3 separate regions of the Homo sapiens genome follow, and all the other regions are linked to region 1. Evidence: promoter capture Hi-C in 16 types of primary human blood cells and fetal thymus (Javierre and others, 2016). All regions are on one chromosome and are shown on one strand. The core of a region is centred on a gene start or on the middle of the fragment in contact, and the rest is flanking DNA. Distances in the headings are between cores, read along the strand shown. Region 1 holds the start of HSPB8 (heat shock protein family B (small) member 8). Region 2 has its middle 47 kb from the start of SUDS3. Region 3 overlaps SUDS3 (SIN3A corepressor complex component SDS3).

Region 1 (2,981 bases), core at 248-2,747:
CTGGCATATAGCAAACATTATGTAATTGATAACTCAAAATTGAAAATACAAGGAGAAAGAGAATTACCTCATGTATTCTTCATGGTACATCTGTGAGTTGGCTACTGTTATGTCCGTTTATAAGGAGGAAAACTAACAACCTGGAGGTGCCTGGGAATAATGTTACTGCCTATAAAGATGCTTTGATTGACCAAACATTAATCGGATTTCTGAATCTTCTCCTAAGCCCATCAGTGAGGTTCCTTATAAAAATTCAGTTTTGGGCCAGGCGAGGTGGCTCACGTCTGTAATCCCAGCACTTTGGGAGGTGGAGGCAGGTGGATCATGAGGTCAGGAGTTCAAGACCAGCCTGGCCAAGATGGTGAAATCCAACTCTACTAAAAAATACAAAAATTAGCCGGGCACGATGGCGGGTGCCTATAATCCCAGCTACTCGGGAGTCTGAGGCAGAAGAATCGCTTGAACCTGGAAGGCGGAGGTTGCAGTGAGCGGAGATGGCGCAACTGCGCTCTAGCCTGGGGGACAGAGTGAGACTCTGTCTCAAAAAAAAAAAAGAAAAGAAAGAAAGAAAAATTCAGTTTTGGCATGAACTCTGCTAAGTCTGTTTAGTAGCAACCACCCATCTTCGATTTCTGATCACCCTCGATATCTGATTAGTTTCCTCATCCTCCGCGGTCCCCCAGGTGATGTCTGAGCACCCTGGCCTGTCTTCAGCAAGAATCCTCTTAGGTTAGCTGAGCCCGAATCCCTCTGACTCCTGGACTTCCCTCCTAGTAAATTTCCATTCGCTGACCCCCCACCTGCTTCTTGGCTACAAATTCACACTTACCCATGACCTACTGGGAATCAAGTCTAATCTTTCTCCCTCACTGCAAAATCCCATTGCAGGGGTCCCTACATCTATGGAGAAAGTTTCCCTGCCCAGTAAAGTCTTGCTTGTCATACTTTAACAAGCGTCATATGAATATATATATACACATTAAAAAAATTTTTTTTTTCCTTTACCAATCTCCCCAGAGGGCATTGAGGCTCTAGGAGCTTGGCCATCTTGTAAGTGGGGATTGCAACCCAGGGCCATCCTTCAAATCCACTGGGCTCCTGTCTCTCTCTTCCCTTTCTGCAGGTCCCCAGGGGAAAGGCAGGATACGACACGCTCTAGGGAAGGTATTTCCAGAGGGTGACCTGAGCCCTCAGCCAGGCTCGGGGTTATTAATAGCCAGGCCTTAGTGCCCCGCTCGGGGAGGGCGGCTCCAGCTCCTGGAGCAAGAGGAGGGCGGAGCTGAGCGGAGTGGCCAGGGGAGGAGAGAGTGTCCGGAGAGGCCGGCTGAACTTGGACGCGGCCCCTCCCAGCTCCCCCCACAGCCCAGCTGTTCCCTCCGCGGATTCTCCGGGGCTGGTTCATCACCTCCGAATATTCCTGTGACAGGAGACGCTTGCAAAACCCGCCTCCAGCCTCCAGCAGCAAATAAATAGAAGGCTTGCAGCCCAGAAGGAGCCAGAAGAAGTTTCTAGGCGCGCGTGCCCTGGGTTTATTAAGCTCCTGGCTCCGCTCTAGACCTCAGCGGTTCTGGCTGCCAGCCTGGGCAGCCTGGGAAGCCTGGGAGGACGGTGGCTTGCCGGTCTGTCGTGAGGCAGTGCGGACGGGGACCCTCTGGGATTCTGCTGGATCTGCCCCGGGGGTTACCTTTGGGGGCTGGGACCCCAGTCGAGGGGACACAACCGTCCCTGGCAGTGGTTGGTTCTGCTTCTCCCTGCAGAAAAGCAGCATTTTCGGAAGCTGAAGAATAAGCTAGCCCAGCCACACCACCTTGTTGTGTGACCTTGGGCAGGTGGTTCTGTCTCTCTGAGCCTCTGTTTCTCTCTGAGCTGAGCAGCCACCATGGCTGACGGTCAGATGCCCTTCTCCTGCCACTACCCAAGCCGCCTGCGCCGAGACCCCTTCCGGGACTCTCCCCTCTCCTCTCGCCTGCTGGATGATGGCTTTGGCATGGACCCCTTCCCAGACGACTTGACAGCCTCTTGGCCCGACTGGGCTCTGCCTCGTCTCTCCTCCGCCTGGCCAGGCACCCTAAGGTCGGGCATGGTGCCCCGGGGCCCCACTGCCACCGCCAGGTTTGGGGTGCCTGCCGAGGGCAGGACCCCCCCACCCTTCCCTGGGGAGCCCTGGAAAGTGTGTGTGAATGTGCACAGCTTCAAGCCAGAGGAGTTGATGGTGAAGACCAAAGATGGATACGTGGAGGTGTCTGGTAAGTCAGGGGCAGGAGGGAGAGAGAATGGGGAGGCCGGGATGTAGCCCTCAGCCCTGGGAATAGCCAGAGAAAGTTTCCTGGGAGCTGACGTTGGGACAGTGTGACACAGGTGACCTCAGGGCTCAGGAATGCAGCCTGCAAAGTTATCTTTACGGAAAACTTCTCTCCCGGCTCCCAGCAGAGATCTTAACCTGCCTGACTCAGCTATTGGGGCCTCTGGGTGCTCATCAATCATGGTACAGACAGGAAAATAGAAACCATGTTGGATATTTTGACAGAGGGCATTTAATATAAAGAATAGGTTAAGCAGATATCAAAGAATTAAAAAACAAAGAAGAAACGGGATTTTGTGCACTCCAGCATCATAACAGAGTCTAGAAGTGCACGTTAAGGCTGAACAATGATAGTGTTAATAACCGCAACTGGTTTCCGGTGAAACACCTCTCCTTGTCCCAGACAGGGAAACTGAGGCTTACCAGTAATTGTAGTAACACTAACTGGTAACTCTGAGTGCTAACTATTCGCTCAGCACTTTGCTAACTGCTGTTGCCTATAATATCTCAGCTAATACCACAACCAGAGGAGGTGGGTACTGTTTATCTTCTTTTTTCAGATGAGGAAACTGAGGCACGGAGAGATTAAAGTAACTTGTTCAAGGCCACCAAGGAGTCAGACCCAGGTTGTCTGGGAATTAGGAGGCCAGAAAGAAGAAGTGATGATTTACTGAGCACC
Region 2 (3,185 bases), core at 75-2,574, 760 kb before region 1:
GACTAAAACCAGAAAGTCCCAGGCACACTGGGATGGAAATACCCTAACACTGCCATCGTTCTATGGGTTCATTTTTGCCTCTGTCTGTACCTGCCCAGTGGAGGTGATGAAGGCCCTGAGTTCATAATCCTGGCCTAGCCACTCATTAACCTTGGGACATTTTCTTAGTCTCTGTGTGCCTCAGTGTTAGGGTATTCCCATCCCAGTGTGCCTGGGACTTTCTGGTTTTAGTACTGAAAGTCTTGTATCCCAGGAGCCCTGTCAGACTGGGGCAAGCTGGGATGGTTGGTCACCCTACCCAGTTTCCACTGTAAAATGGGGGTGACAACTGCTGTTTTTTCACAGATTTGATTTGAGGGTTAAGTAATTTATTATTGATAAAGTACTTAGAAATAGTGTTTGGGACATAGTCTTTTCTCTCTCCCTTTCTGTGTATATAGATATACACACACACACGTACATATGTGTGTGTGTAATATAACACATATGCACATGTATATATACACACACATATACATACACACATTGTTAGAGATGAGGTCTCACTGTGTTGCCCAGGCTGGAGTGCAGTGGCTATTCACAGGCACCATCATGGCTCACTGTAGCCTCAAACTCCTGGCCTCAGGCGATCCTCCTGCCTCAGCCTCCCAAGTAGCCGGGACTAAAGGCAATACATATTTATTTTTCCTTGTTATTCTTGTTTTCATTATTATTGGAAGAAAGTGTTTCCACCACAGAACGGGTCCCTGGAGACCTTCACTCTTATCCCAAACAAGACAGGGAACTTTGCTATGATAATCTTTTGGTCACCTGCAGCCAGTTGTTTGGAGTGTTTCTTCATCTACTTGAAATAGTAAATAATCATAAGCTTGAGGAACACATTTGTCATTGCATTCAATTCAAAAACCATTTATTGAATTTTACTGCATGTTAGGTAGTGTTCTAGGCTCTTTTGGGGGATTCAGAGAAAGCTAGGCAGGCCTTGAGCAGTGTCTATGACCAAGAATGGGAATTCCATACAGAGGAAATGGCTTGAGCAAAAAGACAAGTGGATATGAGTCATGTTTAAAGTCAAATAGTAGCGTGTGTTTAACATACATCACAAGCCTTGAACTTTTTTTCTTTTTTCTTTTTTTTTAGACAGAGTCTTGCTCTGTCGCCCAGGCTGGAGTGCAGTGGCACAATCTTGGCTCACTGCAACCGCCGCGTCTCACAGGTTCAAGCGATTCTCCTGCCTCAGCCTCCTGAGTAGCTGGGATTACAGGTGCCTGCCACCATGCCCGGCTAATTTTTGTATTTTTAGTAGAGACGGGGTTTCACCATGTTGGACAGGCTGGTCTTGAATTCCTGACCTCATGATCCACCCACCTCAGTCTCCCAAAGTGCTCGGATTACAGGCGTGAGCCGCCACGCCTGGCCACAAGCCTTGAACTTTAAAACCAGTTTGCTCCCTGTTTGGTTATCTTTTTGCCCTTTCCCATCGAGGACTCGCCTTCCTTTCCTTTCTGCCTCTCTCCTTTCTTCTCCCCACTGTGCCTGCCCTGCTTGCTCTTCTTCCCCTTTCTGTCACCAGTGCAGTGGCTCATGGCTGACCTGCAGTGATGCTTTCCAATTTCACACTAACATGCTCCTGAAAGTATTAATAAGCTAACTCATATGTAAAACCAATAAAGGGCAACAGCACACATTCCTGTTAGACAGTAATTTTACCTGATTCCCTTTCTCCTACTTTGATCAGTCCTCTTCTCTCAAACATGGTTCTTTGACCTTCCCAGAAGTGAAAGCTTATGGGAATTCAAGCTTGGTGGAGCCCTGCGGGCATATTAGGAAGGAATAAGGGCTCAAATTTATTGAGCACTTATGATGTGTTTGGGTGAGGGCTAAGTACTTTTTATACATTATTGTATTTAATATACTAAACTGCCCTGTGATGTGTGTCTTCGTGATTTCCATTTTACAGATGATGAAAATGAGGCTTGAGGAGGGGAAGTGTTCACCTCTGCACCACGTTCACACATTTCCTTTCCCCTTTGGCTTCTGTCTTCCTAATGTAGATGGCCAAAGCATAAAGGACCCTTAGTTGTCATCTTAGCCAACCCCTTCCATTTTTCGCTTCTGGAAACAGACGCCAAGCTAGAACTCAGTTCTTGTAACTCTCAATTCAACAATCTAAATGGAGAAAAGAAATCCAGTTGTGAGACTCAGAGGCAGGGGCTTGAGACAGGTTTGAATCTGGATTGAACTCTGCTGCTTACAAGCTGTGTGAACTTAGGCAAATCACATAACCTCTCGGGGCTCCAGTTTCCTCATCTAGAAAGTGGGACTAATAATAGCAAGGTTTATTGTCAAGATTAAATGAAGTCATGCAAGCAAAACAATATAATAACTATTGTGCTTCAAACAAACTCTGTAGGTCACTTGAGTGCTTTAGAAAATATAACCTGGCCAGGTGTGGTGGCTCACACCTGTAACCCCAGCACTTTGAGAGGCTGAGGTGGGAGGATCACTTGAGCCCAGCAGTTTGAGACTAGGCTGGGCAACATGATGAAATGCTGTATCTACGAAAATTATCCAGGCGTGGTGGTGTGTGCCTGTAGTCCTAGCCACTCAGGGCCTGGGGTGGGAGGATTGCTTGAGCCCGGGAGGTTGAGGCTGCAGTGAGCCATGATCGCACCACTGCACTCCAGCTTGGGAGACACAGACCCCATCCCAAAAACCAAACAAACAGAAAATGTAGCCCACACCATGCCCGTGCCGGGTGGGCATGGTTATCACAGGGATTGCCTACCCCAACTCCTGCCCCACCTGCTCAGGCAGGTCCCATTGTGCCTCAAGGATAAGCCCATGGTGAACTTCCAAGGGTACGCCATCCAGGGAAGGCCAACAGAAGCCACTAGTCAAGTGGCTTGACTAGTTCAAGACAAGCAGATCTCCAGGCATCTGTTTTCATCTTGTTAACCTTCTCACTAGAGAAGAGTTTGAATTGCTGCCTCTCTGGGTGTGTGGAGATAGCCACTGGATTGTGAGCCAGAGAGGACAGGGACTGGGGCTTTTTGTTTTTCCTCCAAATCTCCCAACACGAGTACATTGTAGGTGCCCATTGAGTGCTTGCTGAATGGAGGAATGGTTAGCTACTGCCTCCTACTTCTCGTTGCAGGACATCAATATCTTTCTAAAATCATAGT
Region 3 (3,185 bases), core at 505-3,004, 770 kb before region 1:
AACCTCCGCCTTCCAGGTTCAAGCGATTCTCCTGCCTCAGCCTCCCGAGTAGCTGGGATTGCAGGCACCCGCCACCATGCCCAGCTAGTTTTTGTATTTTTAGTAGACACGAGGTTTCGCCATGTTGGCCAGGTTGGTCTCGAACTCCTGACCTCACATGATATTACTGCCTTGGCCTCCCAAAGTGCTGGGATTACAGGCATGAGCCACTGTGTCCTGCATTCCTGGTTTACATTGAAGACTCTTTGAAACGTTCAGACCGCCTAGCATTTTTCATTGGAAAGGTAATGGCAAAACAGTATGAAAGAACCTTAAAAGCTCATACTTTTGTTCATTCAACAAACATTTCTTCTGTTCTGTATTACGCTTTCTGCTAGATATGAAATGGATACTGCCATCATTTCTCAGGTCTTTTCATTCTGATATATTTCTTTTTATTCTTTATCCATATGCAGGCATAGTCTATTCATTCTAAGGCATAGTGGACATACGGTTTGCTTTGCCTTTCTGTTTGGTTATATTGAGAATGTTTTTCTGGGTTACTGTAAGGTGTCTCATTATCATTTATAATGGCTATATAATGACCCTTTGAGTTTCAGTATCTAACCAAAAGTTCCAAAATTGGGGTAATGATTATTTATTTTGAATTCTTAAAAAAACCCAGCATTGTGTTAGGTTGGTTACCCGATAACATTGTACTTGTCAAAAATGCTTAGGGTTCTAGTCATGGCCGAAGTAAATCATTTCCACCTATTAAGTTGCAGTGAGTTAATTGCCCAGTAGATGCTGGAGGCTGGCTTTATCTCTAAGGCTGATCTTGATGACTTCTTCCCCTCTGAGTTGGTGTTCTTTGGCATTCTTCAGAAAGGTCGGTTTGTGTTATATCTTAACATTATGTCTCAGAACACATCGCCACTAGGTGGCAGGCTCTAACAGCTTAACACTGAGAAGGGCAAAATGAGATGAAAAATGTTTCTAATAATGAAAACCAAATAACCTTTAAAGATCAAGCCCACACATAAGAACCATCTTTGAAAATGATGAGATTTATCACTAACATTTTTACAAATCTATGAGTCTTAAAGCCATGTGATATTTCCAGTGATGTTCATTTTGTAATTGTGTTGCTTTGAATCTTCCTCTTTCTAAGCTTAATCCTCAGACTTTACGAGACATGTCTTGAGGGTGAAAATGCAGTAAAATAAAATTCTTGTTTTTTTAAAGAAGAGATCCACAATGTCTGGTGTTTCCTAATGTAAACAAAATGATCAGATTTGATGTGTTAGAACTCCTAAGCATTTTGAAGGAATTTTCACCATCTTTCTTACATTAACAGCAGAAATTTAGAAAATAATGTCACTGGATGCATTTTACTTTTTCAGTGAAATTGAAATTGCTTATTCTCTTGTTAAATATACTTTGAGAATGTTGTTTTTTTTCTCTATTCTGTATACTTTTCATTTTTGGCCTTGGCAGTCAGAGATCATAATGCAGTTGTTGAAGGTGGGTCTCCCTCTTCCCCAATGACAATTGAAAAGTGTTCCTGGGAATACTGGCTGAGGTGTTCACTGGTGCAGTGCCAGCCTCTCCCATCTCACCAGGCTCATGTTTGGCTTTTGTATCAGTTTGGAGGTTTTGTTTTTCTTTCTTTGGCAGACGTGGCCTGTGGCTGAGAGGTCAGCTACATTGCTTTATGCTCTTTCCAGAGGGTATGGAGTATTTTGGTGCAGCCGTATTTTTGGCAGAAGATGTCTTCCTGAGTTTTAAATGACTTCAGCAAAACAAATGGGATTCAGGCATCGCATCTTGGTGTGAATACTTGCCAAGCTCCCTTTCATTTTGAAAGATAAGGATCTTCCCTTTGCCTTGGTCTTATACTGCTTTTAAGGCATTCTATATCATGCTATGTAAATTTGCCTCACATTTTGATTTGGACTAATGATCTCTCAAAAAATACTGTGAAAAAGTAGCTGATATTTGAAAATAACTAATTGATGGTACGGGTGGACTTCTGTTTTTCTCTCCTTGTTTTAAATCTGGGGCTGCCTGTGAGTCAGAAACGAAGCCACCCACTTGCTCAAGAGCATTTTCCCCTTCAGCCTTCGGTCGACACAAAAGACTTAAAACAGTGAATATTTACCAGTAGAATTGGGACTCCTTGAGGTTCTGTAGCTATAACGTGGACTCACTTATTGGGGAAATAAAGTGTTAATACCAGGATTCTCAGTAGGATACAAAATTAAATTAATTTTCCTACCTCCTCGCCCCACTTTTGTGTCCACCTTCTTAAGAAATTGCTTTTCGAAAATAGTACAGTAGTGGTAATTTCTAGTTTTGTTCGGTTTAATAGTAGAGGTTCAAAGCTTTAAGAACTTAATTGTAGAGATTCCCAGGTCAGAATTTCCATTAGTTACAAAGTAATAGAGTCAGTTTGACATTTGGGGCTTAGTCTTTGAGGCTATTTAAATATCTTTTTTCAGCAGCTGAGTTGCAGCTTGTAAAACAGGTTAATTGGCCTAAAAAAAAAACGCACATTTTTACTACCCTGTTGATGTTGCTTCGTAGCACATTTTATATCTAAACATATTTTTAAATTTCTTCCCCCCCCTTTGATTTTTCTTTAGAAATTAAAAAGTAAATTCTTATGTTAAGGTTGTCACATACTTCTTGGTTTCATCTTTAACCGCCCCCGCCCCCCCATATGAACACTTCATTTTTTATTTTTTTGAGACAGGGTCTCACTGTCCCCCAGGCTGGCATGCAGTGGTGTGATCATAGCTCACTGGAGCCTTGATCCCCCTGGCTCAAGCGATCTTCCCACTTTGGCCTCCCGAGTAGCTGGGACTACAGTCCTCCATTACCATGCCTGGCTAATGTTTTTTTGATTTTTAGTAGAGATGAGGTCTTGCTATGTTGCCCAGGCTGTCCTCAAACTCCTGAGCTGAAGTGATCCTCCTGCCTCAGCCTCCCAAAGTGCTGGGATTACAGGTATGAGCCCTGAACACTTTAATATCTAAGGACTTATCTTTTCAGAGAATTCAAATAATTTAATAGATTTGGTATCTAGGGATAATGGTTCCCCCAAGACATCGTGTAGTGCATGAGGATCCCTTGAAGGTCTCAGAGACTGCGGTTCAGGAGGGACCTGGTGATCAGTTGGTTTGGAAGTTGGCTGCTTTGGGAAG

The links. The method cuts DNA at HindIII sites, captures the fragments that hold promoters and counts their contacts. A CHiCAGO score of 5 or more calls a contact.
Region 2: a contact is called between a fragment that was not itself captured here and the fragment with the promoter of HSPB8 in region 1, in 1 of 17 cell types (endothelial precursors). The highest score is 5.8, in endothelial precursors.
Region 3: a contact is called between a fragment that was not itself captured here and the fragment with the promoter of HSPB8 in region 1, in 1 of 17 cell types (endothelial precursors). The highest score is 6.2, in endothelial precursors.

Annotation. Positions count from the first base shown.
Region 1 is chr12:119,177,434-119,180,414 of GRCh38, forward strand. It overlaps HSPB8 (heat shock protein family B (small) member 8), which reads left to right and starts at 1,498. Exons shown (of 3, transcript NM_014365.3): 1 at 1,498-2,246. The coding sequence starts at 1,880. RefSeq lists an enhancer at 1,101-1,850. The HindIII fragment of the contact is 5,655 bases long and covers 1-2,981 here.
Region 2 is chr12:118,421,526-118,424,710 of GRCh38, forward strand. No RefSeq gene overlaps it. Among named protein-coding and RNA genes, the nearest start is that of SUDS3, 47 kb to the left of the region's middle. The HindIII fragment of the contact is 916 bases long and covers 867-1,782 here.
Region 3 is chr12:118,404,190-118,407,374 of GRCh38, forward strand. The region is part of intron 10 of SUDS3 (SIN3A corepressor complex component SDS3); the gene reads left to right. Among named protein-coding and RNA genes, the nearest start is that of SUDS3, 29 kb to the left of the region's middle. RefSeq lists an enhancer at 809-858. The HindIII fragment of the contact is 1,213 bases long and covers 1,149-2,361 here.